Regions from separate parts of the Homo sapiens genome. Here all the other regions are linked to region 1. The links are contacts of gene promoters, found by promoter capture Hi-C in blood cells and fetal thymus (Javierre and others, 2016). All regions are on one chromosome and are shown on one strand. The core of a region is centred on a gene start or on the middle of the fragment in contact, and the rest is flanking DNA. Distances in the headings are between cores, read along the strand shown.

Region 1 (6,677 bases), core at 1,878-4,377:
TGGAGACTCTAACTATATGTCTGACCTTCCATGTGAGGAAGCTCCCTGAGGAACCGTGGCTCTTAACTCCTGGACTCCTTCCTATGATGGGTGAGAAGTGCCATGTTCTCAACACCTGCCCTCTCACCAGTATGTTTCTGGAAATACATGACCAGTGAGAGGTATTATAGGGAGAAGGACACTGGTTTAAAGACATGGCATTTTGGCCAGGTGTGTTGACTCACACTTGTAATCCTAGCACTTTGGGAGGTCGAGGCAGGAGGATCATTTGAGGCCAGGAGTTTGAGACCAGCCTGGGCAACATAGGAAGACCCTGTTTCTACAAAAAAAAAAAAAAAAAAATTTTAATTAGCCGGGTGTGGTAGTGCATGCCTGTGGTCCCAGCTGCTCAGGAGGTTGAGGCAGCGGGATAGCTTGAGCCCAGGAGGTCAAGGGCAGTGAGCTACGATCCTGCTACTGCCTGCACTCCAGCCTCGGCAACAGAGCAAGACCCTGTGCATAAATAAATAAACAAATGGCATCTTGAACTTGGAGTAGCTTGGGTCAACCTCTGTCCCCACTCCATGTTAAGCACTGTTGGTTAGGGAGAGAAGAAACCCCAGCTCCTAAAGCCTGCTTTTCATCCATCTTTTGCTTTCCGGTTTTGTTAACCTGGGATGAAGACCTAATTTTTCCTTATGTTATAAGATCCAATCCAGTGGGGCAAAAGCAGCAGCTTATTTGAACAGAAAGACCAGTTTCCGGAGCCAGACCTGAGGTCGACTCCCAGCTTCACTTTCTAGATGTTTGGCCTTCCGCAAGCTACTCCACTTTCCTAAGCATCTGCTTTTTTTTTTTTTTTTTTTTTTTTTTTGAGACAGAGTCTCACTCTGGCGTCTCAGCTCACTGCAACCTCTGCCTCCTGGGTTCAAATGATTCTCCCGCCTCAGCCTCCTGAGTAGTTGGGACTACAGGCACGTGCCACCCCACCCTCCTAATTTTTGTTTGTTTGTTTGTTTGAGACGGAGTCTCGCTTTGTCGCCCAGGCTGGAGTGTAGTGGCGCCATCTCGGCTCACTGCAAGCTCCGCCTCCAGGGTTCATGCCATTCTCCTGCCTCAGCCTCCCAAGTAGATGGGACTACAGGTGCCCACCACCATGCCCGGCTAATTTTTTGTAATTTTAGTAGAGATGGGGTTTTACCCTGTTAGTCAGGATGGTCTCGATCTCCTGATCTTGTGATCCACCCGCCTCCACCTCCCAAAGTGCTGGGATTACAGGTGTGAGCCACCACGCCCGGCCTGTTTTTGGTTTTGAGACGGAGTTTCACTCTTGTTGCCCAGGCTGGAGTGCAATGGTGTGATCTTGGCTCACCGCAACCTCTGCCCCCCGGGTTCAAGCGATTCTTCTGCCTCAGCCTCCCGAGTAGCTGGGATTACAGGTGCCCACCACCACGCCCAGCTAATTTTGTATTTTTAGTAGAGACAGGGTTTCACCATGTTGGTCAGGCTGGTCTCGAACTCCTGACCTCAGGTGATCTACCCACCTCAGCCTCCCAAAGTGCTGGGATTACAGGAGTGAGCCACCATGCCCGGCCAGCCTCTGCTTTTTCATTGAGAAAATGTGGCCTGCCTCACAGTTACCTGTGAGGATTCAGTCATAAACTGTCACATAGTATAAACTCAAAATGTTCATTTATCTCTCCTTTTTGTCATGTGAACTTCAGGGTTTTGTTGTGTTGTTTAAGAGAAGTAGGCTATAGCAGTTAGTATGGGCCCTGGAGCCAGACCATGGAGGTTTTTGAGTCCTGGCACTGTCACTTACTTATTGGCCATTGGACCTTGGGCCTGTTAATTCACTTGTTTGTGCCTTAGTTTCCTCAATAAATGAGACTATAATAGCATCTACCTCATGCTTGAGGTATTGAGAGGAGTAAACAATGTATGTAAAAGTGCTTGGAACTGTCCCTGTGCATTCAAGAAATCTTAAAAATTATTATTAGAATACAGGAGCGGCCGGGTGAGGTGGATCACCCCTATAATCCCAGGACTTTGGGAGGCTGAGGCCGGTGGATCACCTGAGGTCAGGAGTTCGAGACCAGCCTGGCTAAGATGGTGAAACCCCCGTCTCTACTAAAAATACAAAATTAGCAGGGCATGGTGGTGGGCACCTACAATCCCAGCTACTTGGGAGGCTGAGGCAGGAGAATCACTTGAACCTGGGAGGTGAAGGTTGCAGTGAGCCGGGATCATGCCACTGCACTGCAGCCTGGGCGACAGAGTGACTCTGTCTCAAGAAAAAAACAAACAAACAAAAAAACGGGCTGGGCGCGGTGGTGGTTCACACCTGTAATCCCAGCACTTTGGGAGGCCGAGGCAGGCGGATCACAAGGTCAGGAGTTCGAGACCAGCTTGACCAACGTGGTGAAACCCCGTCTCTACTAAAAATACAAAAATTAGCTGGGTGTGTTGATGCATGCCTGTAATCCCAGCTACTTAGGAGGCTGAGGTAGGAGAATCGCTTGAACCCGGTGGTGGAGGTTGCAGTGAGCCGAGATCGCACCACTGCACTCCAACCTGGGCGACTGAGTGAGACTCCGTCTCCAGAAAAAAAAAAAAAAAAAAAATTCAGGAGCACTTAATAAGCGATAAACTGAAGATGAGGAGGAGCCCGAACCTCCCCCAACCCAGCTCAGGGGACTATGTAACCGTGTGGAGGAGGCAGAAGCTCTCAGAGACTAAAGAGTAATTGCTGCGGTAGAGAAGGTTCTAGTACCCAATTTCGCGGGGGGAGATGGGGGAGGCGGAATAATAAGGCAGGAAGAAGAGAATGAAAAAAGGAGGCCTTGGGCGGCTCAGGGCTTGTTCTGAAGCTGATTTAAAACAAAACAACAAAACACATGTATGGTTTCTGCAGGCCACAGGATGAAGAGGAGAGGAGACGGAAAAGAGTTTAAAGGGGCCTGCCCTCTTTGCAGGCACCGGCTTGAACCTGGAGGCGACCTGGTGGGCTGGCCGGCCTGCCCCCGGCCCTGGGTCCCGCGAGGCAGGCGGGCGGGCGCGAACAGACTACAACTCCCGGCATGCGCCGCGGCGGGCGGGTCGCTGCACCTGCTCAGTGGGGCAGCCCCGGGCGCCTGGGTATTGATTATTCCATTGTGTGGGACGCCTAGACTCCAGCCAGTGAATGAGGCGGAGGAGTGAGGGCGAGGAGGAGGAGGAGGAGGAGGGCGAGGAGGAGAAGGAGGAGGAGGAGGAGGAGGCAGGGAGCGAGCGAGTGCCCAGGGTGAATCAATGGAAACCCCCTCACGAAGCCGGGGAAACACTTCAGCCGCAGCCAAATAGCATTGATTATTTTCCTTCACTTCCCTCACCGCCGTGAATTTATTTATTTATTTTTTTCCGTCTCCGTCCCTGACGCCCCGGAGCGAGCGCTGGAGGGAGGGAGGAGGAGGGGAAAAAAGAGGAATCAACACATCGGAGAAGTCCCTTCCAAGAGCCGCCCCCTCCCCTCCCCGCCTCGCGCTGCTCGGTGGCCGCGGTTCGACTCCCGTCCCTGCTTCCAGCTGAGGTGTAAGTGCATCGATTTCCGATGCTGCTGGGTTGGTTTTTTTCTCCTCTCCCTCTCTCTCTTCTTCCCTTCCTTGCTCTTTGGAAGCTCGAGACGGGAGAGGAGGCGCTTGGAGACTGCCGCTGGAGGGGACGGAGAGGGACGGGAAGGGGCTGGGGGAGGGGACAAGGACGGACGGACAGACAGACCGAGAGCCCTGGGAGATAGCAGACAGGGGTGTGGGAGGAAGAGGGCGTGCGCGAGGATGGGGGAAGAGAGATGCGGGGGTGGAGGGAGAAACGGGAACGGGAAAGGCAGAGGCCCGCCGGACAGACGAAGGGTATGGAAAGCCTAGACGGACCGCGCCGAGTTGGGCAGGGAGCGGGGATCCCGGGGGGAAGGGGAGGCCCGGTGAGTGTGAGGGCTCAGAGCTGTCAGCCTGGAGGGTCCTGGGTCTCGGCGGCCCCCCGCCGGCTGTGGGATGGGAGAACCGCGGCCGGCGGGCTGATGGATGGGCTAGCGCGCTGGGGCGTGGAGTGGGAGGGGACGTGGATACTCTCAGTCTTCGTTCGTTTTTGGCTGAAGTTGGGCTTTCCATTCCTTTTTTTGAAAGTGTTGAGTAGGTGAGGGGAGGCCATAAGCCCATTCAAGGTGAAGCGTGTCTGTCCTGCACGCCCATCCTACCACCCCCATCCGCTCGTCTGCCCCTCTGAGCAGCCCTATCATTTTCAAGCACAGGACCACGCTTCCTCGCTGTGCCTGTAGCCCCGCTGATCTCTGTCCATGTGTCCCTGACTTTTGGTTTTGCTGTTCTTCATCTTGTCTCTTCCATCCCATCCATCTCTGGATCTGTATGTCACTGTCTCCACTTGTGACCCTTCCCATCTGAGTGATCCTCTCCTTGTGTGTCTCTATCACTATGTGTCACGCCTTGGCTGCCTGTTCTGTCGGTCTAGGATTCCATGCCCTCTCCTTCAGAGTCTGTCTGGATATCTCTGGCCTTTTCAGGCTACTTTGGAATTTGCTTATCAGTCATGATTGTGGTGGTCACAGTCAGGGCCTGGAGGAGTGGGATGATGGAGCAAATGTGTCTTCGCCAAAGCCTCTAGTGCCTTCAGCATGGCCAGGACAGCCTCCTCTTCCACCATCACCAGAGAAGCTTTGGAACTTCCTAGCATTGTTGACTGTCCCCTTTGCCATGTGCCTGTCTCCCTCATCAGAACCTCACCTTCTGGTCTCATGCGTGTCATCTGCCTTTCCAGGAGCTTCGCACAACAAAACCTCTTCCCTGCTGACTTAATTTTACTCCCTTCCCCCACTGTATCATTGTATATTTTTTATTTCCCCATTTTGCTTCACCCCTTTTTTCCATCTGTTTCCCATGAGCTCTGAGTTTCCACCTTTGTTCCCATAATCTGCCCTCTTCCTACCTTTTCTTCTTGATCACCCTAAGTTTCTAGTTTCTTTTATCCCTTTTCCTCTTATCCAGCATTTTAACCCCAGCAGCAGAAAGTACCAGCAAGCAAAGGGCTGGGAGAGGTGTGGGGTATGGTTTGTGAAGGCACATAAACAGGCCAAGAAATAAATTTAATGAGCTTCCAGGGGCATATAACCCCTCCATCAGTCAGTGCCATTATGTCAGTTAACTGTCAACTTTGATTTTGTAAGGGGACATTCCCTAGGACTCTAAGCTCCACCCTGCCTGGTTGCCCCCCATCCTTCAGTTCATTCTAGATATCAGTTGCTTTTTCTTCACTTTTTAGTTCATCTTCTTCCTAGGCCCCTGCTACTATCATATTTAGATCCAGCACCATTTTTTTTTAATGAGGCAGTGTTTATTAGTGTAATAAAAGCTATCGTATGTAAGGAGCCAAGTTCATTTAGCCTGAAGAACAGTAAGGGTGGATAAAGGATCTGGAGAGTTTACCTTAGTTTTTAGCCCATCATTGTTTTTCCAAACCTCAGGAGCTTGGAAAGGTAAAAGGAGCAGGCAGACATGGGCAGAAGATGGACGATTTCAGAGGTGAACAGAATTAAAGAAAGAAAGGGGTGGTCGGTGCAATAAACACATGGGGTAGAGAAATGTATGACGTGAGGGATGTGCAAAGGAAGGGAGGAAAATCTATGCGGACTCGGGGGCAGGGGAGGAACCAAGGGGTGATTAATAAGAAATTGGAAGAATGAAACAAAACGTGTTGATAGCAATACAGAAGGTAAAAGGAAGAGAAATGATAGAATATTCCTAAAGTGGAGGTCAACAGAAAAAGCACTATGAAATTAATACAGTAGTAAAGAGGGGGAAGGGAGGAATTGCTGAACAAGATGAGATGGGAAGAGAGTATGGTACAAAGAAGGTAAATGGATGGCAAACGAAGGAGTGCTGAGGCAGATCAGAGCTGCACAGAGCTTGGTAGGAGGAAAAGAGGAGAGGATGAGGTATCAAAGGAAACAAATGCCTCTGGTGTGAGGAGGACACAGCGTGACTGATGCGAAGAGAGCGAGAGCACTGCGGGGGCGCCGGGGGGTTGGAAAAAAAGCATAGCACAAATAGCAGGAATACCACTGGGCGAAGCCCCAGAAGAGAGAAATGCCCAAGAGAGGGAGAGAAAGCAGAAATATCCAGGGAAGAGACAGAGAGAGAGAGAACCTCACGAGCATTCATTTCATTGGCCTAATCACTCACTACCCCCACGAAAGGCCTTTGTATTTCATTCCCAAGCCAGAACACAAGCAAAGAGATGAAAAAGTAGAATTCCCATAAACTTCAGCTGAGAGGAACTTGAATCTTCCCAGCCCCTGAGAACCAAAGACCTCAAGCCTCTGATGTCATAAATTGCTGGTATTGCCTTGGCAACCTGACAGGGTTCCTCCCTCCATGATGTCAGAGGCAGCTGGTGTTACCTTGAGACCCATACAGGAATCACTTGCTGCTTTGCCGGGGTGCTGTATCACCTACGGGCCAGGGCCTGGGTCGAATTGGTAGGATTTCTGACTCTGGTAGCTTGACCTTGCCTCCCTGGAGCTCTTCCCAGCTCAGAACAACAGTTGTCACAAATAACTCCTGTTTGTGAGCACCTGAGGTTTGCTAGAGCCTGACAGTAGCAAGAGGAAGGAACCTAAGACAGGGCATTGAGGTCAGGATGGTTGGATC
Region 2 (6,677 bases), core at 4,178-6,677, 690 kb before region 1:
TTTGGAAAATGCAGACAGCTGGATGAGGACTGGCATATGGGTGCATGATGAGTACAAAGTGGCAAAGGATGTGCATGAAGAGGTAAGCTTGGGCCAGTTCATTAAAAATCCTTTTGCCATATTTAGGAGTTTGGACTTTCTTCTGAAAGTAAGGGGGAGCTTTCAATTAGGGATGATATGATCAAGTTTTGCATTTCACATGATTCATAATGAAAGCAACATAGAAAAGAAATTAGAGGGGTTGGGCTGGAGGTAGGAAGATAGAGTCCTCTTGGGATGAGAGATAGGAGAACCTGAATTAGGGTAGAAGCAGTACGAATGAAAAAAAAAGGGTGGGTTTGAACGTTGTATAGGAAATAGAACTGATTAGACTTGATAACAGATTCAATTTGGAGAGGAGGGAGGGCAGAGATAAGGGTGGTGGCCTGAGTTTCTGACTCATGGGTGCCACGAAGAGAGGTGCCATGCACAGAAATTCGAAGCTCAGGAGGAAGACCATATTATAAAAGGGAAGGTAGACCAGGCACGGTGGTTCACGCCTATAATCCCAGCACTTTGGGAGGCCAAGGCAGGTGGATCACAAGGTCAGGAGTTCGAGAGCAGCCTGGCCAATATGGTGAAACCCAGTCTCTACTAAAAATACAAAAAAAAAAAAAAAATAGCCACGCATGGTGGCACATGCCTGTAATCCCAGCTACTCGAGAGGCTGAGACAGGAGAATTGCTTGAACCCGGGAGGTGGAGGTTGCACTCCAGCCTGGGCGACAGAGTGAGACTCCATCTAAAAAAAAAAAATGAAGATAACGACCTCTGGTTTTTAGTCTGGCCTGTAACAAGCTTAGGAGTCCTCACTCCTGTCCTCACAAAGAAAAATGCTGAACAAACTGAAAGTCAGCAACTCTTGTTGGATCTATCAGAGAATTGAGGGCACAGGGCAAACTGCTGCCCCTAAAACTGGAGAGACAAAAAGGCAGATACAGAGAATCACAACTTAACAGCAGAAGCCCAGAAACAGAAACAGAAACAGAAACTTCTGGGGAGCCAGTACCAGGGTAGGAAAACTTAAAGTGTAATTGACTCATAGCTGGAGGCTTAGGGTGGACAAATTTGAGAGCTAAAAAATCTATAGTGGCCAGGCATGGTGGCTCATGCCTGTAATCCCAGCACTTTGTGAGGCTGAGGCACGCAGATCACTGAGCTCAAGGGTTCGAGACCAGCTTGGGCACCATGGCAAAACCCCATCTCTACAAAAAAGACAAAAAGTAGCCGGGTGTGGTGGCACATGCCTGTAATGCCAGCTACTTGGGAGGCTGAGGTGGATCACCTGAGCCTGGGGAGGTTGAGGCTGCAGTAAGCCGAGATCACGACACTGCACTGCAGCCTGGGCGACAGTGAGACTGTCTCAAAAAAAAAAAAAAAAAACAAAACATCTAGGGGTCCCATTCTTAGGGGGGACCCTACCCTTTTTTTGGTTTTTGTTTTTTATTTTTTGTTTCTTGTTTTTGTTTTTCCCAGGCTGGAATGCAGTGGTGCAATCACAGCTTACTGCAGCCTCCAACTCCTGGGCTCAAGCAATCCTCCTGCCTCAGCCCAAATAGCTAGGACTGCAGGTGTGTACCACCATGGCTGGCTTTTTTTTTTTTTTCTTTTGAGATGGAGTCTCGCTCTGTCACCAGGCTGGAGTGCAGTGGTGCGATCTCAGCTCACTGCAACCTCCACCTCACCTCTCAGGTTCAAGTGATTCTCCTGCCTCAGCCTCCTGAGTAGCTGGGATTACAGGCACGCGCCACCATGCCCAGCTAATTTTTGTATTTTTAGTAGAGACGGGTTTCACCATGTTGGCCAGGATGGTCTTGATCTCTTGACCTTGTGATCCACCCACCTCAGCCTCCCGAAGTGCTGGGATTACAGGTGTGAGCTACTGCGCCCAGTCACCTGGTTAACTTTTAGATTTTTTTGTTTGTTTGTTTTGTTTTTGTACAGACATGGTCTCACTATGTTGCCCAGACTGGTCTTGAACTCCTAGCCTCAAGCAATCCTAGGTGTGAGCCATGGCACATGGCCACAAGTTTTACCAGGATCCCACAGTGAAAACTGGAGAACCCCCTGCCCCGTGATTCTGGCAAAGGGGAGGAGGAAAGTAGCCACTTTGAAATACATCCATTGCATTCTGTTCTCACTCTGTTGCCCAGGCTGGAGTGCAATTCATTGCAACCAGGCTGGATTACAGCTCACTGCAACCTCAACCTCCTGGGCTCAGGCAATCTTTCCACATCAGCCTCCTGAGTAACTGGGGCTACAGGTGTGCACATCTATGCCTGGCTAGTTTTTCAATTTTTTTTGTAGAGACGGGGGTCTCGCCATTTTGCCCAGGTTGGTCTCAAACTCCTGGGCTCAAGCAATCCACCTGCCTCGGACTCCCAAGAAGTCAGCTACACAGAGATAGCAGCTGAAAATGAGTAATTCAGCTGGGCACGGTGGCTCACGCCTGTAATCCTAGCACTTTGGGAGGCCAAGGCAGGTGGATCGCTTGAGGTCAGGAGTTCGAGACCAGCCTGGGCAACATGGCAAAACCCCATCTCTACTAAAACAAAAATTAGCCGGGCGTGGTGGTGTACGACCTGTAGTACCACCTACTTGGGAGGCTGAGGCACCAGAATCGCTTGAACTTGGGAGACACAGGTTGCAGTGAGCTGATATTGAGCCACTGCATTCCAGCCTGAGCAACAAAGCAAGACATTGTCTCAAAAAACAAAAAAAACCCACTGTAACAGAAATGATGAATGTCTGTGATGGGCTCATCAATAGACTGGACATGGCCAAAGAACATGGTGCGCTTGAAGAAATGTCAACAGAAATTTCCAAAGCTGAAATGCAATGAGAAAAAAAAATGAAAAAGAACAGAATATCCAAGAATTGTAGGACAATTATAGAAGCTGTAGCATACACATAATCAGAATGGCAGAGAAGAAAATAAAGGAACATAAGAAATGTGGCAATAATGACTGAGAATTTCCCCCAAATTAATGACAGACACAAAACACAGATCCAGGAAGCTCAGAGAGCAGCAAGCAGGATAAATACAAAAAACAAAAAATGAAGATAGACTGGGCTGGGCAACACAGAGAGACACCCCTTCTCTACAAAACATATTTTTCTTTTTTTTTTTTTTTGTAGAGTCAGGGTCTCACTGTATTGCCCAGGCTGGTCTCAAACTCCTGGCCTCAAGTGATCCTCCCACTTCAGCCTCCCAAAGTTCTGGGATTACAGGCATGAGCCACCACACCCACCAAAAAAGATTTTTTAAAAAATTAGCCAGGGACTGCGTGCAGTGGCTCACGCCTGCGATCCCAACACTTTCGGAAGCCGAGGTGGGAAGATCGCTTGAGTCCAGGAATTCGAGACCAGCCTGGGCAACAAAGACTTGTCTCTACAAAAAATAGAAAAAAATGAGCCAGGCATGGTGGTGCATGCCTGTAGCCCCAGTTACTTTGGAGGCTGAGGCAGGAGGATCACTTAAGCCCAGGAGGCAGAGGTTGCAGTGAGCCAAGATCACTGCACTCCACCCTGAGCAACAGAGCGAGACTGTCTCCCCACCTCAAAAAAAAAAAAAGAGCCGAGCGCGGTGGCTCACGCCTTGTAATCCCAGCACTTTGGGAGGCCGAGGCGAGCGGATCACGAGGTCAGGAGATCCAGACCACGGTGAAACCCCGTCTCTACTAAAAATACAAAAAAGCCGGGCGCGGTGGTGGGCGCCTGTAGTCCCAGCTACTCGGGAGGCTGAGGCAGGAGAATGGCGTGAACCCAGGAGGCGGAGCTTGCAGTGAGCTGAGATCGCGCCACTGCACTTCAGCCTGGGCGACAGAGCGAGACTCCGTCTCAAAAAAAAAAAAAAGTAAAACAACAGAAGTTCATATCTACATAAGAAAGAAAGAACATTAGAGAAGGAATAAATAAAGGGAAAAAGGAAGATAACTAGAATTTCACACATATCCAATTTGGGGTACTTTGGGACTGGGTGTTTCTTGGGCAGTCGAATGTGCGGATCAGCTGAGACTGATCCGGGGCGGAGACAAGGATGTGTGAACCATTATCTCTGGGAATGGAAGACATGGGCTAAAGACGGAGCAGTTTCACTAAATCCTTGTAAGGTGGTCAAGGCAGGCAACTAATCCAGCCAACAATTAAGGAGTGTAAGCTGTGTGTTAGGTTCTGTGCTTGCTGATGGAAATGAGAGGCACCAGGAAGCCTGTGGAAGAGACAGTCAAGGAGAGCAGTCAATTACATTAGGGGGCTGACAAGTTCAGTGCACAACAGAATCCTAAAACAAGAAACTAATTTGTGTGTGTGTGTGAGACCCCGTCTCACTCTATCACTCAGGCTGGAGTGCAGTCACTGAAGCCTCAACCTCCCTGGCTCAAACAATCCTCCCAACTCAGCCTCCTGAGTAGCTGGGACTACAGGCGTGCCACTACGCCCGGCTAGTTTTTTTGATTTTCAGTAGAGACAGGTTATCGCCATGTGATCCAGTCTGGTCTGGAACTCCTGGGCTCAAGCGGATCGATCCTCCCCTCTCGGCCTCTCAGAGTGCTGGGATTACAGGTGTGAGTCACCGTGCCCCCAGCCTGTATTCTATTTCTTCTTCTTCCTCTTTTTTTTTTTTTTTTTTTCTTTGAGAGAGATTCTCCCTCTGTCGCCCAGGCTGGAATGCAGAGGCAAGATCGCGGCTCACTGCCACCTCCCGTCTACTGGGTTCAAGCGATTCTCCTGCCTCGGCCTCCCGAGTAGCTGGGATTACAGGCGCCTGCCACCACGCCCAGCTAATTTTTGTACTTTTAGCAGAGAAGGGGTTTCACCATGTCGCCCAGGCTTGTCTGGAGCTCCTGGGCTCAAGTGACCCTCCTGCCTCGGCCTCTCAAAGCGCTGGGATTAGACACAAGCCACCACGCCCAGCCTGTATTTTATTTTTTAAGGGCGGGCGCCCTCTTCTGTTTTATAAAAGGAACAGTCGAATTCCTACTGGAAGCGACGCGCGCAGAGGGGAAGGCTTTGTAGACGCCGGCTCGGGTCTGGAATTTAAAGAACTAAATTTCGATGGGTGAAGACAGTGGGAAAGGGCGGTGGCATGATCCTCGTTTTACAGACTAGGAAGTCGAGCCTCACGGGAGTGACGGGGCTTCTCCGCAGGCTCCGCGAAGAAAGCAAGGCTGGGAGGACCCAGACGAACGGCCACAACAGCCTCAGCGGCCACGACAGCCTCAGCCGCCAACTCATGTCAGCCGGCAGAGAGTGCAGGAAGCGGGCAGCTACAGCTCCGCTGGGGCGTGGCCTTCTGACGCACCGTCACGGTTCCCTCTGTGGCCGCCCATTGGCTCCCTCTTACCGCCCTTTTCCGGGGCAAGGGAAGCTAGTAGCGGAGCCGGAAGTGAGGCACCCTCGGGCTCGAGACAGCGGCGACGTTTAAAGCTGAGCGACCCAGTGCCACTGGAGACGGTCAGCTTCTCCACTCAGGCTCCTCCAGCCCGAGCCAGAAGACCCCCTCCCCCAGAATTCTGGGGGCCGATGGAAGGGAGCCGAGTCAGATCGCGAGGTACCCAGAGCCGACAGACCGGAGCGACAGGGAGTTGCCAGAAGCCCCGCCCCTAGGAGTGATCGGAAAGCCTCACCCATCCGGGTGAGGAACCCGGAGGGACCGCCTCCGGGCGGAGCCCGCCGACCATGGCTACGCCCCTGGTGGCGGGTCCCGCAGCTCTACGCTTCGCCGCCGCGGCTAGCTGGCAGGTTGTGCGCGGACGCTGCGTGGAACATTTTCCGCGAGTACTGGAGTTTCTGCGATCTCTGCGCGCTGTTGCCCCTGGCTTGGTTCGCTACCGGCACCACGAACGCCTTTGTATGGGCCTAAAGGCCAAGGTATTGGAGCAAGTAGGACCTGGAAGGGGAAAGAAAGAAAGGGGCGGGATGCGAGCACCTGACAAGGGCCCACAGCTTGGGGATGAGACTAGTTGGAAAAGGTCAGCTTGCCCCGAAGTGGGGATTCTGAATTCAGTACCGTACAGGTGGTGGTGGAGCTGATCCTGCAGGGCCGGCCTTGGGCCCAAGTCCTGAAAGCCCTGAATCACCACTTTCCAGAATCTGGACCTATAGTGCGGGATCCCAAGGCTGTGAGTAATCCCCGGAACAAGCCCTGACCCCAGTTACACTTGGTGCAGCAAAGTTGCTCCTCCTGTCTACTGGATGTTGGTGCTAACTTCTCTGTCTTCTGTATCCTCAACAGACAAAGCAGGATCTGAGGAAGATTTTGGAGGCACAGGAAACTTTTTACCAGCAGGTGAAGCAGCTGTCAGAGGCTCCTGTGGATTTGGCCTCGAAGCTGCAGGTGAGACTGGTTTGAAGGCTATTATGTGGCTATTTTCTCTAACCCATTTTTTTTTTTTTTTGAGGAATCTTGCTCTGTCGCCCAGGCTGGAGTGCAGTGGCACAATCTCGGCTCACTGCAACCTCTGCCTCCCGGGTTCAAGCGATTCTCCTGCCTCAGCCTCCCGAGTAGCTGGGATTACAAATGCCCAGCTAATTTTTGTATTTTAGTAGAGATGGGGTTTCACCATGTTGGCCAGGCTGGTCTCGAACTCCTGACCTCAAGTGATCCGCCCACCTCGGCCTCCCAAATGGCCAGGATTA
Region 3 (6,677 bases), core at 2,972-5,471, 620 kb before region 1:
TGGATCAACTGAGGTCAGAAGTTTGAGACCAGCCTGGCCAACATGGCAAAAACCCATCTCTACTAAAAATACGAAAATTAGCTGGGCGTGGTGGTGCATGCCTGTAATCCCAGCTACTAGGAAGGAGAATTGCTTGAATCCGGGAGGCGGAGGTTGCAGTGAGCCTAAAGTGCACCACTGTACTCCAGCCTGGGCTAGAGAGTGATACCCCATCTCTCAAAAAAAAAAAAGGATAAGAAATCTGACCTCAGAGGACTCTTGTGAGGTACTGATGAGGTTATACACATAAAATGCCCCTCACCAGGCACGGTGGCTCACACCTGTAATCCTAGCACTTTGGGAGGCCGAGGCGGGTGGATCACCTGAGGTCAGGAGTTTGAGACCAGCCTGGCCAACATGGTGAAACCCCATCTCTACTAAAAATACAAAAATTCGCCGGGCATGGTAGTGCACATCTGTAATCCCAGCTACTAGGGAGGCTGAGGCGGGACAATTGCTTGCAGTGAGCCGAGATCGTGCCACTGCACTGTAGCCTGGGCAACAGAGTGAGACTCTGCCTCGAAAAAAAAAAAAAGCGCCCCTCACAAGGCCTGGCTCTTAAGCTCAAAAATGGTCATTTCTACAGCTCTTGGGCCTGCCTATGCCTCTCACCAGAAAGAAGGTTCTCTCTGCTGACCTGGCTCCCTGGGCTCTGTAGGAACTTCAGGAGGGATCTCTTCAACTCTCTCTGGGATTGCAGCCTCTAAGAGGTGTCGAATCTTTGGAGAGGGATTGGAAACAAAAGATAGGGTTCAGCTTCAGCCCCCTGCTTTCCCACTTTTCACAGCCTTCTTCAACAATGCACGGTAATCTCCTTTTATGCCTAATTCTTGTTGCATTGACATCAGCTTGCAGTAAACTCACCCGCCCTCTGGTCTTCTTTCCTCAGTTCCTGTTCTCACCTCCCTCCCCAACCCGCACCCCAGTTATCTAGCCCTCATCAATTTGTGCAAGAAGGCCGGGCTCGGTGGCTCATGTCTGTAATCCCAGCACTTTGGGAGGCTGAGGTGGGTGGATCACTTGATGTCAGGAGTTCCAGACCAGCCTGGCCAACATCGTGAAACCTGATTTCTACTAAAAATACAAAAATTAGCCGGGCTTGGTAGCAGTGCCTGTAATTCCAGCTACTTGAGAGGCGGAGACAGGAGAATTGCTTGAACCTGGGAAGCAGAGATTGCAGTGAGCTGAGATTGAGCCACTGCACTCCAGCCTGGGTGACAGAGCAAGACTCTGTCTCAAAAAAAAAAAAAAAAAATTTGTGCAAGCAGCAGTGCATCGTTATCCTTGGCAAGTGTTGTGGTTGACAGAGGTGAACAGAAAAGATTCTTGATCTTAAGGAAGTCTAGTGGGGAGACAAGGTTGTATGTAACCCCACAAGAGTCAAGGCAAAGGGTAAAACAAGGCCCTAGCAAAGTACTGAGTTCCCAAACTGCATTTGGTTCCGGCTAAGACTGGGATAAATATTTCATAGAGAAGGGCAGCATTTGAGCCAGGTCTGTAAGAATATGTAGAACCCGACTTGTAGAGGATGAGGGGTGACCATTATGGGCTAGGGAAACAGTACAAGCAAAGATGTGAATGTGGCATCATTGAGGCATAAGGGCCAAACTAGTGTTTAGGAGCCACAGATGCCCAGAGGACTGAGAGAGAAGTCTGGGGATGACTAGTTCTAAACTGGGGTATGTGCCAGGCACGGTGGTTCACACCTGTAATCCCAGCACTTTGGGAGGCCGAGGCGGGTGGAGTGCCTGAGATCAGGAGTTCAAGACCAGTCTGACCAACATGATGAAACTCCATCTCTACTAAAGATACAAAAATTAGCCGGGCATGGTGGCAGGCATCTGTAATCCCAGCTATTCGGGAGGCCGAGGCAGGAGAATCGCTTGACCAGAGGAAGCGGAGGTTGAAGTGAGCCAAGATCATGCCACTGCACTCCAGCCTGGGTGACAGAGACTCCATTTCAAAAAATAATAATAATAGGCCAGCGCGATGGCTCACGTCTGTAATCCTAGCACTTTGGAAAGCCAGGGTGGGTGGATCACCTGAGGTCTGGAGTTCGAGACCAGCCTGGCCGATAAGGCGAAACCCTAAAAAAATTGGGCCGGGCTCTGTGGCTCATGTCTGTAATCCCAGCACTTCAGGAGGAGGAGACAGGCAGATCATGAGGTCAGGGGTTCGAAACCAGCCTGGCCAGCATGGTGAAACCCTGTCTCAACTAAAAATACAAAATCAGTTGGGCATGGTGGCAAATGCCTGTAGTCCCAGCTACTCGGGAGGCTGAGGCAGGAGAATTGCTTGAACCGGGGAGGCAGAGGTTGCAGTAAGCTGAGATCGTGCCACTGCACTCCAGCCTGGGCCACAGAGCAAGATCCTGTCTCAAAAATAATAATAATAATAGTAATAAAATAAAAAAAGAAATAAATGGGGCATGGAGAGCCCCAAATGCTAGTAATCTGTTTGCAGCAGGAGCCACTGTTCAAATGGGGAACCAAGGAAGGGGGTGACATTAAGCTGTAGGAGTATTGGGAATAGATGGAGGAGGACAGGGGTAAGAAAGCCCAGTGCAGAGAGATGAGAGCCTGGATTAGGGCCTTGGCAGTGAAAACAGTGTGGAGACAAGTGGGGACAAGAGCTGCCTCCAGTGGGGAAACCGTCTGATCAGATTGGCCCTGAGTAGGTAAGTACAGGGGGCTTCGCCTGGATGGGTCCACCTTGGCAGTCCCCCTGCACCATCTCCTGTGGGAGAGAGCTGTGGTAAGCTTCCTTCCCCAACCCCAATGTCAGAGTGACACAGGGACAGCACTCCCCTTCTGCATTGCCAATTCACGAGTCTTGGGGAATGAGCCCTACCTGAGGGATATCGAAAGGACTAGGAAGTCTGGGATCCACAGACATCATCCCAAAAAAGGGATCTGGAGCATCTTCTAGGGTCTCCATCATGGCCAGGTGGTTAGGAAGCAGCAGGCTGGGTCTGGGAGAGAATGTAGGCCGTGAAGGACTGAGGCTGAGCCAGGCTGAGGCCAAGCTAGCAGGTGTTCCATCAAAGGCCCAGGGCACACTCACAGCTCAGTCTCCATATCTATTCGGATCTGCAGCTGGGCACGGTGGAGGCGCTCCAAGATGTGCTGGATGTCCTCTGTGGGCAGGGAGGACGAGGTAGACAGCCAGCTTAGCAGACAGCTGCTCAGCCCGCCCCACCTTTGAGGGTTCCCAGCCTTACCCACGAGGTACTGGCATTGTTGAGAATAGACGCGGATCACACCGATCTGAAGTTGGGCTGAGAGATAGAGGGAGAAGCGGGGCCGCGGCAGGCCGGGCTGCGGGGGTTGCACTCGTACCAGCACGTAATTGAGGATTTCCTCGCTGGGGAACAATGCGCCCTGATTACCGCTGCGTCCAGGAGTGGGCCCACAGTCTTGGCCACCCCATCCCCTAACTCACCCCCCGCACCAGGCCCTCCTTCCCTTTTCTGGGCCTTACCAGGTTTTCACCACATTCACCCTCAGGTATTCGCGCTTCACCAACCGGCTGCCGCGAGTCGCCGCCAGCCTGAAGTGGGTGGGGAAGGTGGGAGAATGGGGATGGAGGGGGAGCTGTCAGGCTGGGATCCCGGGCAGCGTCCGCCATCGCGCGCCAACGGGCCCCGCCCTTACCAGATGGTGGCAAAGCAGCCGGTGTGGCGCTGAAGCACGTTGGGATAGTAGAACATTGTCCCTCTGGTCTTTCACCCTCGATTCCACCAGATCCCCGTTCGGATCTGAGTCGGAATTCTTTAGGGCACAGAATTCCCAACACCTTGGAGAGAAGTCAGGATTTGGACTTCTCTGGTGGCAAGGTGGGTGCACCTAGAAAGCCAAGTTAATGAGGCAACGAACAATGGGCAGATACACAATTACCAGGATAACTGAGACGCAGGAGATGGGCGCCCCTCTCTGTGGACCCTCAGTGGATCCGCACGCCACGTGATGCGTCAAACTTGAGACTTCTGGGTTGGGTTCCAGGTTGGAGATGCAGAGCTCCAAGGGGACGTCCGGGCCGGAATCCAGAGCAGGTCCCGAGGGAGCACGGTGTCCTCCACAGCAGGCCTCGGTCCTCGAGCGCTGGGAGCGATGTCAGGCCCCTGGGCCTTGCACTGGCTTGGGCGGCCGCGGTGTGGCCCCGGGCCGCCTACTGCAGGACTAGATCGCACCGCGGGAAGCGAGCGCTTCGGGGCACCGCACCTCGCTCCTCATTAGATGGCGGCTTTTGCCCTGACAGCCAATGGGGAACGGGGGTCGGGTCGGGAACGCCAAGTATCCTGGCAACAGGGTCTCCCGAGGCAGCCAGCAAACCAATCATAAGGATTTTGCGCGCCGCTGGGGTCCATTGTGAGGTGTTCCGACCAATGGGCTCCGGTTCTCGCCTCTAGTAACAGGCGCCCCTTCCTTGACCAATGAGCGCATCCCCGTCGCTCCCCCGCCGCTCCCCCGCCGCAAGCCTGGCAACAAGGGCGCCTCAATTGGTAGGGGAGGTCGGGTCACCTCGGGGGCAACTGTACTGGGCCTCTTCCGGGTGCCAAGATGTACCTTGCACGGCGCCTGACCTGAGGTTAGACCCCGCCCTTCCCCCAATCCACAAACTCCGACTTTGTTTCCAACTAGGGCGTGTCGTGTGCTGCAGAGGAAGAAAGATGTGAGATGAGGCCGGGCGCAGTGGCTCACGCCTGTAATCCTAGCACTTTGGGAGGCCGAGGCGGGCGGATCATGAGGTTAGGAGTTCGAGTCCAGCCTGACCAATATGGTGAAACCCCGTCTCTATTAAAAATGCAAAAGTTAGCTGGGCGTGGTGGCACGCGCCTGTAATCCCAGCTACTCAGGAGGCTGAGGCAGGAGAATGCTTGAACCTGGGAGGCGGAGGTTGCAGTGAGCCGAGATCATGCAGCTCCACTCCAACCTGGGCAAGGGAGCAAGACTCCGTCTCAAAAAAAAAAAAAAAAAAAAAGGCTGTGAGATGATGGCCTTGGAGCCACCACAGGTCAATGAGGAAGAAGTCCATTTTTTTTTTTTTTGATGGCCTTGGAGCCACCACAGGTCAATGAGGAAGAAGTCCATTTTTTTTTTTTTTTTTTGAGATGGAGGCTCTCACTGTTGCCCAGGCTGGAATGCAGTGGCGCTATCTCGGCAATCTCGGCTCACTGCATCCTCTGCCCCCCATCCCCTCAGGTTCAAGCGATTCTCGTGTCTTGGCCTCCTGAGTAGCTGGGATTACAGGCGCCCTCCATCACACCCAACTAATTTTTGCATTTTTAGAAGAGACGGGATTTCACTATGTTGGCCAGGCTGGTTTCTTTTTTTTTTGAGATGGAGTTTCACTCTGTCACCCAGGCTGGAGTGCAGTGGCGCAGTCTCAGCTCATTGCAGCCTCCGCCTCCCCGGTGCAGGGGATTCTCCTGCCTCAGGCTCCCGAGTAGCTGGGATTACAGGCGCCCACCACCACACCTGGCTAAATTTTGTATTTTTTAGTAGAGACAGGGGTTTCACCATGTTGGCCAGGCTGGTCTCGAACTCCTGACCTCAGGTGATCCGCCCGCCTTGGCCTCCCAAAGTGCTGGGATTACAGGCGTGAGCCACTGCCCCCAGCTGAAGAAGTCAATCTTACACGAAACTCCGAAAGGACTTACTGGGGTCACTTCCTAAATCTGAACAACTTAGGTTATGGGCACGCCACGTGTGGTCCTTTCCCAGCTGTCAGTGTTCTCCCGGCTGAAATAGACTTTAGCATTTTTGGATGCAGCACAACTTCCTAGCCTGGAAAAGCCATATTCTCAACAATTATTGTGTAAATTTAAGAGGTACAGTTGTAATAATAACCCTTGTCCCTATGCCTCCTACCTTTGCACAGCCATTTCTTTGGCCTAGAATGTCCTTCTCTGCCTTGACTCCAGAGCATGCTTCTTCCTGAGACTTATATCTTACTGCAGCTGAGCTGACCCTATCTTCTTACAGTCCCCTTCAATTTGAGAGTTTTTTTTTTTTTTTTTTTTTTTTTTTTCTGAGATGGAATTTTGCTTGTCGCCCAGGCTGGAGTGCAATGGACCATCTTGGCTCAGTGCAACCTCCGCCTCCTGGGTTCAAGCAATTCTCCTACCTAAGCCTCCTGAGTAGCTGGGACTACAGGCATGTGCCACTATGCCTGGCTAATTTTTTTGTATTTTTAGTAGAGACAGGGTTTCAACCATGTTGGCCAGGCTGGTCTCAAACTCCTGACCTCAGGTGACACCCGCCTCGGCCTCTCAAATTACATGCCTATAGTCACAGCTACTCAGAAGGCTGAGACAGGAGGATCGATTGAGCCGAAGGTCGAGGCTGCAGTGAGCCATGATTGCACTGCTGTGCTCCAGCATGGGCGATTCTGTCAAAAAAAAAAAAAAAAAGAAAGAAAGAAAAAAAGAAATACATGAAGTGGCCGTAAGTGCTATGAAGAAAATGAGGCAGCATAGGAGGATAGAATAATGACGGCTGCTATTTAGGGAGGGTACTCAGGGAAGCCTTGCCCCCTCTCTTAAGAGATAAAATTTGAAGAATGTGGGTAAGTCATGTGCCTACCTGAAGGAAGAGTAATTTAGACAAAAGAACCAGCAAATGCAAAGACCCTGAGGT
Region 4 (6,677 bases), core at 2,699-5,198, 540 kb before region 1:
TGGAGCTGCTGAGTGTTAGCTTGGCACTGCAAAGCAGGAACCTGGCTGAGACAGAAGCCAGCCTAGAGGAAGCAGAGCAGGGAGATGGCGAGCAATGGATTCCTGATTTCAGTTACAGGAATTGATGCATTTCTTCTCTTGCTCAAGCTAATTTTAATTGGAGTTCTGCCACTTGCAACAGAAACAGTCTTGATTCTCAGATTTCTTGGAGTTCTATGCTGGAACATAGTGGGATAAGGAGAGCTGGTCTCCAGCCACGGGCTTGCTACTGGTCCCCGTCTCTTCCCCCTCAGGCTCTAGCCTACACTCAACCTCAGGTATATGTATTTGGATCTCTTTCCCCCCAGTTCATAGATCCAAACTCTGTCCACACTTACCCAGCTGCAAACACATACCTCTTGGCCAACCTTTGGGCCTAAAGGTGTGCACACTGGTGGCAGCATGGTTGACCTGAAGGTCATCATCTTCTCCATAATCCTGCACCTGCTCTCATGGTTTCCTACCTCAGCAAATGGCACCATCATCTGGCCAGTTGCCCCAAAGGGAATCAGTCTAGACTATTCTTATCCTGCATAGCTAATCAGATGCCAGGACCTTTGGAATTGTACTTCTCAATTAGCCCTCAAGTCTGCAACTATCCCCATGGCCAGGGCCTTAGTTCAGGGCTTATCTCTCACCTGGCTTCAGGTGATAGCTTCTAAGGCACTTCTTGGACTCCTGCCTCTCCAAACACCAACCCCTCTCCCTACCAAGCCACTCCCCACACTGTGCATGCAAATCCACTTGGAAAGTTAAGAGAGAAGAATAATGTTTATGCTATGGACAGTAGGTGCCAGGCTCTGTGTCAGCAACTCTGCATGCATAATCTCATTCTGTTTCACAACTATATTTTACATATGTGGACACGGGCTTAAAGAGTCATTTGCTCGGTCACCCTAAGGGAAGAATCAAGGAAAAAGGGAGGCAGGACCCCAGAAGTATGCCAACATATAACACCCTAAATCAAAGGTCAAATGCCGCACTTGACCTCCAAGATGCCTGCTTGGGCCTCTTCCAAGTGTACTTTCCTTTCTTTCATTCCTGCTCTAAAGCTTTTTAATAAACTTCCATTCCTGTTCTGAAAAAAAATTATTCATGAATATTTTATACTTTTATCCTATTATGAATGAAATGTTCTAATTGTTTACCACAAGTACATACAAATAAAATTGCTTTGTGTATATTGAAAAAAAAAAGAGTCATTTGCTCAAAGTCACACAAATGGTTAGCAGGAGAAATGGAATCTGAATCCATATCTTTCTGACTCTAATTACCAAGTCCCCCTCTCCCTATAAATCCTATACTGTCCCCTTGATTTACCATTAAAAATTAGATCATATCACTCTTAAGCTTAAAATCTCTTCCAGGCTCTTTCCATCACATGATATCTTATGTCCTTCATAATCTGACTCCTATTTATCTAATGTTGTCACCCCCACATCCCCACTTGCCTCCTTTTCTCCTACGTACTGAACTCTGAAGTTTCCAGAGCACTTCTGTGAACTTTTTCTGGGCATCTGCACTCAAATTAAACACACACCATCCTGGCCAACATGGTGAAACCCCGTCTCTACTAAAAATACAAAAATTAGCTTGGTGTGGTGGCGCACGCCGGTAGTCCCAGCTACTCAGGAGGCTGAGGCAGGAGAATCGCTTGAACCCGGGAGGCGGAGGTTGCAGTGAGCCGAGATCGCACCACTGCACTCCAGCCTGGGCAACACAGTGAGACTCTGTCTCTAACACACACACACACACACACACACACACACACACACACACACACACAGGCCTTTTCTGTTCGTCCCTTAGAATGAACATCTATTTCATCTGTGTTGCTTCTATCCCATGTATATGCCTATATTTTTGTACTTTACTATACTGTAGTTACTTTTATATCTCTGTAATCCTCACTAGAGTGATGATTTCAGTCTTGTTTTTCTCCTAGTTCCCAGCAGTACCTGGCCTATAACAGGCACTTAATAAAAGTTGGTTGAATAAAAGAATGAATGAGTGCCACGTTTCTGAATTCTTCTTCCCCACCATTACTTTCTTCTCTAGCTTTAGGCAGATGGAGCAAGGGGCTCACGTGCAGATTTCCTTGCACTGCTCATTTCCCCTTATCTGCCACACACTTTTCTTTAGTTCCCTGCCGGGAGAGCCTGGCCCACCAGCTGGCCCTATGTCCAAGGAGTACCACCAGGGGGCAGAGTGTGATCTGCATTGTCCTCTCTGGGGCCTCTGGGTTCATCCCTGAAGTCTCACAGCCCGAGTAGTGATGCTGTGGTGTGTAGCCCAGATTCCCGCTTCAGGATCATGATGCTCATTGTTCCAGCTGCTGAGTGTTGGCTGCTGATAGCTCACAGCTGAGTACTTCCTTGAGCACTATCTGTGGCCAAAGGGAGCTGTCTCACCAAATGCAATGCCCGCTTCCTGGGGGCAGTATGTATCCAATGAATGGTTGTTATAAAGTACAGAGGCCTAGCCCTTTGTCTCAGTTTGGGACAACTCTGAAGGTCCATCCCAGCCCCAGAGCTCTTTAGGCTCAGCTGATTACAACTGCAGTGCCATTCAACTGTTCCCTCTCTTGGGTCCTGCTACTCTTTCTTTGAAAGTCCCCCCCCGTGCCCCCCCCCCCCCCCCGAGTAAACCACCTGCACACAAGTTTCTGTCTCAGAGTGTGCTTCCAGTTGCAAATATTCCTCAGGCTCAACTTGGTTACGGCATTAGTCCTCTAATCTGACTCTTATTTCATTGTTGCCTTCCTCCACAAACACAAAGTGCTGACATACGTGATCCTTCCGAACACAAATCTGATCACATCATGTCTCTACTGAAAACCCTTCAGTAGCTTCTCCCTGCTCTTAGAATAAAGCCCAAACCCTTAATGTGACCTCCCAGGCTCTGCATGATCTGGCCCCTGCTGACTTCTCCAGCCTCAGCTATCACTGTTCTTCCCACCTTCCAGGCTTTCTACTCTCTGGCTACGTGGATCTTTTCTCAGTTTTGTGAACATGTCTACATCTTTCCTGCCTCACAACCTTTGCATATGTTGTTTCTGCCGCCTGGAATTCCCACCCTGTCCACACCTCCAGGCAGGGTCACTTCTTATTCACCTGACCAGTCTTGGTTTAGCATGACTTTCTTAGGCAACCTGTCCCTGTGATGCATCCCCTCTGGCTTTGTATTAGAGTATGTCTTCGTGGAAGAAAATTTCATAGCACCCTGCCCTTCTTCTTCTTAGCACATTCATCTCTGTTTAAATGGTTTGTTTTTATGTAGACACATCTCTAACATATGTAGGACCTGCGGCAGGAGTACAAATAGAGGCCCTCAAACCTTGTGTTTAAATATTTAAAATGGGCTGGGTGTGGTGGCTCATGCCTTGTAATCCCAGCACTTTGGGAGGCAGAGGCTGGAGGATCACTTGAGCCCAGGAGTTTAAGACCAGCCTGAACAACATAGTGAGACTTCTTCTCTACAAAAAATAAAAAAGTAGCCAGGCATGGTGGTGTGCACCTGTAGTCCCAACTGCTTGGGAGACTAAAGTGGGAGATAGCTTGAGCCCAGGAGTTCAAGGCTGCAGTGAGCTATGATTGCACCACTGCACTCCAGCCTGGGTAACAGAGCGAGACCCTGTCTCAAAAAAAAAAGATTAAAATGTATAACTCAGGGTCGGCGCAGTGGCTCATGCCTATAACCCCAGCGCTTTGGGAGGCTGAGGCGGGTGGATCATTTGAGGTCAGGAGTTCAAGACCAGCCTGGCCAACATGAAACCCTGTCTCTACTAAAAATACAAAAATTAGGCCAGGCGCAGTGGCTCACGCCTGTAATCCCAGCACTTTGGGAGGCCGAGGCGGGCGGATCACGAGGTCAGGAGATCGAGACCATCTTGGCTAACCCAGTGAAACCCCATCTCTACTAAAAATACAAAAAAAAAATTAGCCAGGCATGGTGGCGGGTGCCTGTAGTTCCAGCCGGAGTCTGAGGCAGGAGAATGGCATGAACCTGGGAGGCGGAGCTTGCCGTCAGCCAAGATCGCGCCACTGCCCTCCAGCCTGGGGGACAGAGCAAGACTCTGTGAAAAAAAAAAAAAAAAAAAAAATTAGCCAGGCATGGTGGTGCATGTCTGCTACTTGATAGGCTGAGCCAGGAGAATCACTTGAACCCAGGAGACAGAGGTTGCAGTAAGCCGAGATCACACCACTGCACTCCAGCCAGGGCGACAGAGCTATCTCAAAAAAAAAAAAAAAAAAGTATAATTCAGGCTAACAAACTGTTACACAAAATATATTCTGTTCTTCTACCTTGACAAATATATTGACAAATACATACTTCACAATGGCCTGGAAGGCCAGGTTCAGATTTGTATTTTATTTGGAATCCTCAGGGTTCTGCACCAGAATGTGATGGTGTAGGGGGATGTAGTTTTGGCCACTGGCCCTCAGCTGGGCCCACTTTGCCTCCTACCCCTGACACCATCTTGGACTGCAAGGGGCCTTGTGTGGAACCATGTGGACCTCCCATCAGGCCATCCCAAGTCTGTCCACAGTCTCCTGCAAGCAGCTACCCCTTGTCTACCCTTTGACCTCAGAATGTGTGAACCAGTCATGTGGCCCAGCCGTGGGAGGGCAAACCCAGGGAAGAGGTTCACGTGGGCCCTAGGAGTGGGCTTGGGCCTTTTGGACAGGGAATGCTTAGCTATCTGGAGTGTGGTCCTGAGAGGATTAAGGTATGGGCAGAGGATAGTTGGACTCCTCACCCATGTGGTGGGACATAGCCAGAGGAGGCCAGAGTGGAGCCTTCTAAAGCACAGGGCCCAGGGCAGGGGCCACTCCTGCCTGGGCCTAAGGACAATAATTTATTTATTATTTTTTTTTTGAGACAGGGTTTCTTTCTGTCTCCAAAGCTAGAGTGCAGTGGCACCATCATGGCCCACTGCACCCTCATCCTCCCCAGGCTCCTGATCCTCCCACCTCAGTTTTTGTATTTTTAGTAGAGACAGGGTTTTGCCATGTTGCCCAGGCTGGTGTCGAACTTCTGGGCTCAAGCGATCCACCCATCTTGGCCTTCCAAAGTGCTAGGATTACAGGCATGAGCCTCTGCACCCAGCCAAAGGGCAATAATTTGATGTTTCTCTGTTTCATCAGTCTGTAAGTTTCTTGAAGTCAGGGCTGGTATTAGTGTAAGTTACTGAGGGGTCGCTAATGCCTTACTCAGGATGTGGTGCAGAATAGGTGTTTAATATGCATTTTTCAAAAGAATGTAGGAGGTACACCAAGAAGAGGTTGAGGATTTGGATCTATTACTGAAGATCTAGATACCATGAGCCAGAAGTAGGAATGAGAACCAGTCTTTCAGGGTTCCAAAAATGAGAGTGCAGGACAGAGGAGAGGAGGTAGCATCCTGGAATGCTGACTGTCTCATTTTCTCTCCTTCCTCTTCATTTTCTACCCCACTCCTGCAGGCCCTTTGCCTGCCTGCCCCTCTTTCCCCATGGTCCAATATCACTCCATCCATATCTTGCTACCTTTCTGTCCTTTGGCCACTGCTCTTCCTCTGTGGCCTATGTGTCTATTTCTTTGTATTGGTGTCTAGGTCTTGGTCCCCAATCTTATGTCCTGTCCCTTCCTTCTACCACTCTTACTGTTCTAGTCCTTGTTGTCCCCTACTCCCTTCTTGGTCCTCTCCTGGAAGACTTCCTTTCTTTATCCATCTCGTCCATGTGCCTACATCTTTCTGTCTCCTTTAATCCAAATCCCCATGGAGACCCTGACTTGTCCTGTCCTCTATCTCACATCTACACCTACTGCCTCCTTAGTCTCCTTCCTCTGTTCTATTATTCCTGGAGTCACACTGGCTTCATCTTTTTCATCCCTAGATGTCCTTGAGCCCATTAGTCTCAGTATTCATTTCTCAGTCTCCAGTGGATATGGGAGATGGGCTCTGCTTTCTGGGTCCCCACTGACTGCCACAGACTCTCCTCTCTGTGCCCTTGGTCCTTTCCTCTGGCCCAGACTGGGCCCAACCCTCACTCCCCCAGCTCCTTTCCCTGGTTTAGTGGTGCCTGGTCTGAGCCCCAAGCAGCTCAACTCGCCTGAGCTTGTTTAGTCTGACTCCCTTAGCCCGTTAGCAGCTTAGCCCTCCCACCTCTCCTTTGAGCCCTCCAGTAAACAAGAGGATCAGTGCAGACCTGACAGCTGCTGGTTGGGGGCAAGTGTCTGGCCAGGCCAGAGCAGGCATGAAAAAGGGGCTGCACTCAACACTTCCCATTCCTTCTTCAACCAGGGAAATTGTAGAGTCTCTTTCCTGGGTGTCCACTTTGGAGAGCTACATTCCATGGGCATGTGTGTGGGGTCCTGCCTCTCCATGATCCTCATTCCCATTTTGTGGTTGGTTCCTAGGCCTTAGGCTTTTTTATTCTTTTGAGAAAACAGCAGTAGATCCAGGCAGTCACACAGAGAAGCTTGAATGGTGACGATGGTTTCTGCTCCTTAAAACAGAAACCCAGGTGTGGGAAGAGAGTGATGTCATCTGATCTAGGTTTTCCAATATGTGTATGGAAAGCATGGTAGGAGAGACCACATACACATGCACAGACAGACATATATACATGCCTCCCCAGGGAAGCTGGGTAGACT

What was found. Contacts are between HindIII fragments. The CHiCAGO score rates a contact against its expected background, and 5 or more counts as called.
Region 2: the fragment with the promoter of TINF2 here is called in contact with the fragment with the promoter of ZFHX2 in region 1 in 1 of 17 cell types (naive CD8 T cells); the score reaches 5.9 in naive CD8 T cells.
Region 3: a contact is called between the fragment with the promoter of REC8 here and the fragment with the promoter of ZFHX2 in region 1, in 2 of 17 cell types (naive CD4 T cells and naive CD8 T cells). The highest score is 5.2, in naive CD4 T cells.
Region 4: a fragment that was not itself captured here is called in contact with the fragment with the promoter of ZFHX2 in region 1 in 1 of 17 cell types (naive CD8 T cells); the score reaches 5.2 in naive CD8 T cells.

Annotation. Positions count from the first base shown.
Region 1 is chr14:23,548,215-23,554,891 of GRCh38, reverse strand. ZFHX2 (zinc finger homeobox 2) reads left to right here and starts at 3,127. Exons shown (of 10, transcript NM_033400.3): 1 at 3,127-3,549. It also overlaps a transcript of THTPA not described here. RefSeq lists enhancers at 2,774-2,823, 3,673-4,335, 6,459-6,677 and a silencer at 2,954-3,193. The HindIII fragment of the contact is 16,619 bases long and covers 1-4,687 here.
Region 2 is chr14:24,241,373-24,248,049 of GRCh38, reverse strand. It overlaps TINF2 (TERF1 interacting nuclear factor 2), which reads left to right and starts at 5,427. Exons shown (of 9, transcript NM_001099274.3): 1 at 5,427-5,909; 2 at 6,056-6,160; 3 at 6,274-6,375. The coding sequence starts at 5,718. RefSeq lists enhancers at 928-1,127, 4,979-5,278, 5,449-5,708, 5,779-5,998, 6,659-6,677 and a silencer at 4,493-4,787. The HindIII fragment of the contact is 13,864 bases long and covers 839-6,677 here.
Region 3 is chr14:24,169,624-24,176,300 of GRCh38, reverse strand. REC8 (REC8 meiotic recombination protein) reads right to left here and starts at 4,221. Exons shown (of 19, transcript NM_001048205.2): 1 at 3,693-4,221; 2 at 3,520-3,588; 3 at 3,260-3,402; 4 at 3,103-3,175; 5 at 2,890-3,010; 6 at 677-758. The coding sequence starts at 3,748. RefSeq lists enhancers at 3,991-4,240, 4,309-4,809 and a silencer at 4,411-4,460. The HindIII fragment of the contact is 5,740 bases long and covers 2,801-6,677 here.
Region 4 is chr14:24,086,268-24,092,944 of GRCh38, reverse strand. All of the region lies in intron 1 of NRL (neural retina leucine zipper), which reads left to right. Among named protein-coding and RNA genes, the nearest start is that of PCK2, 4.7 kb to the left of the region's middle. RefSeq lists enhancers at 2,481-2,530, 3,446-3,945. The HindIII fragment of the contact is 5,113 bases long and covers 1,392-6,504 here.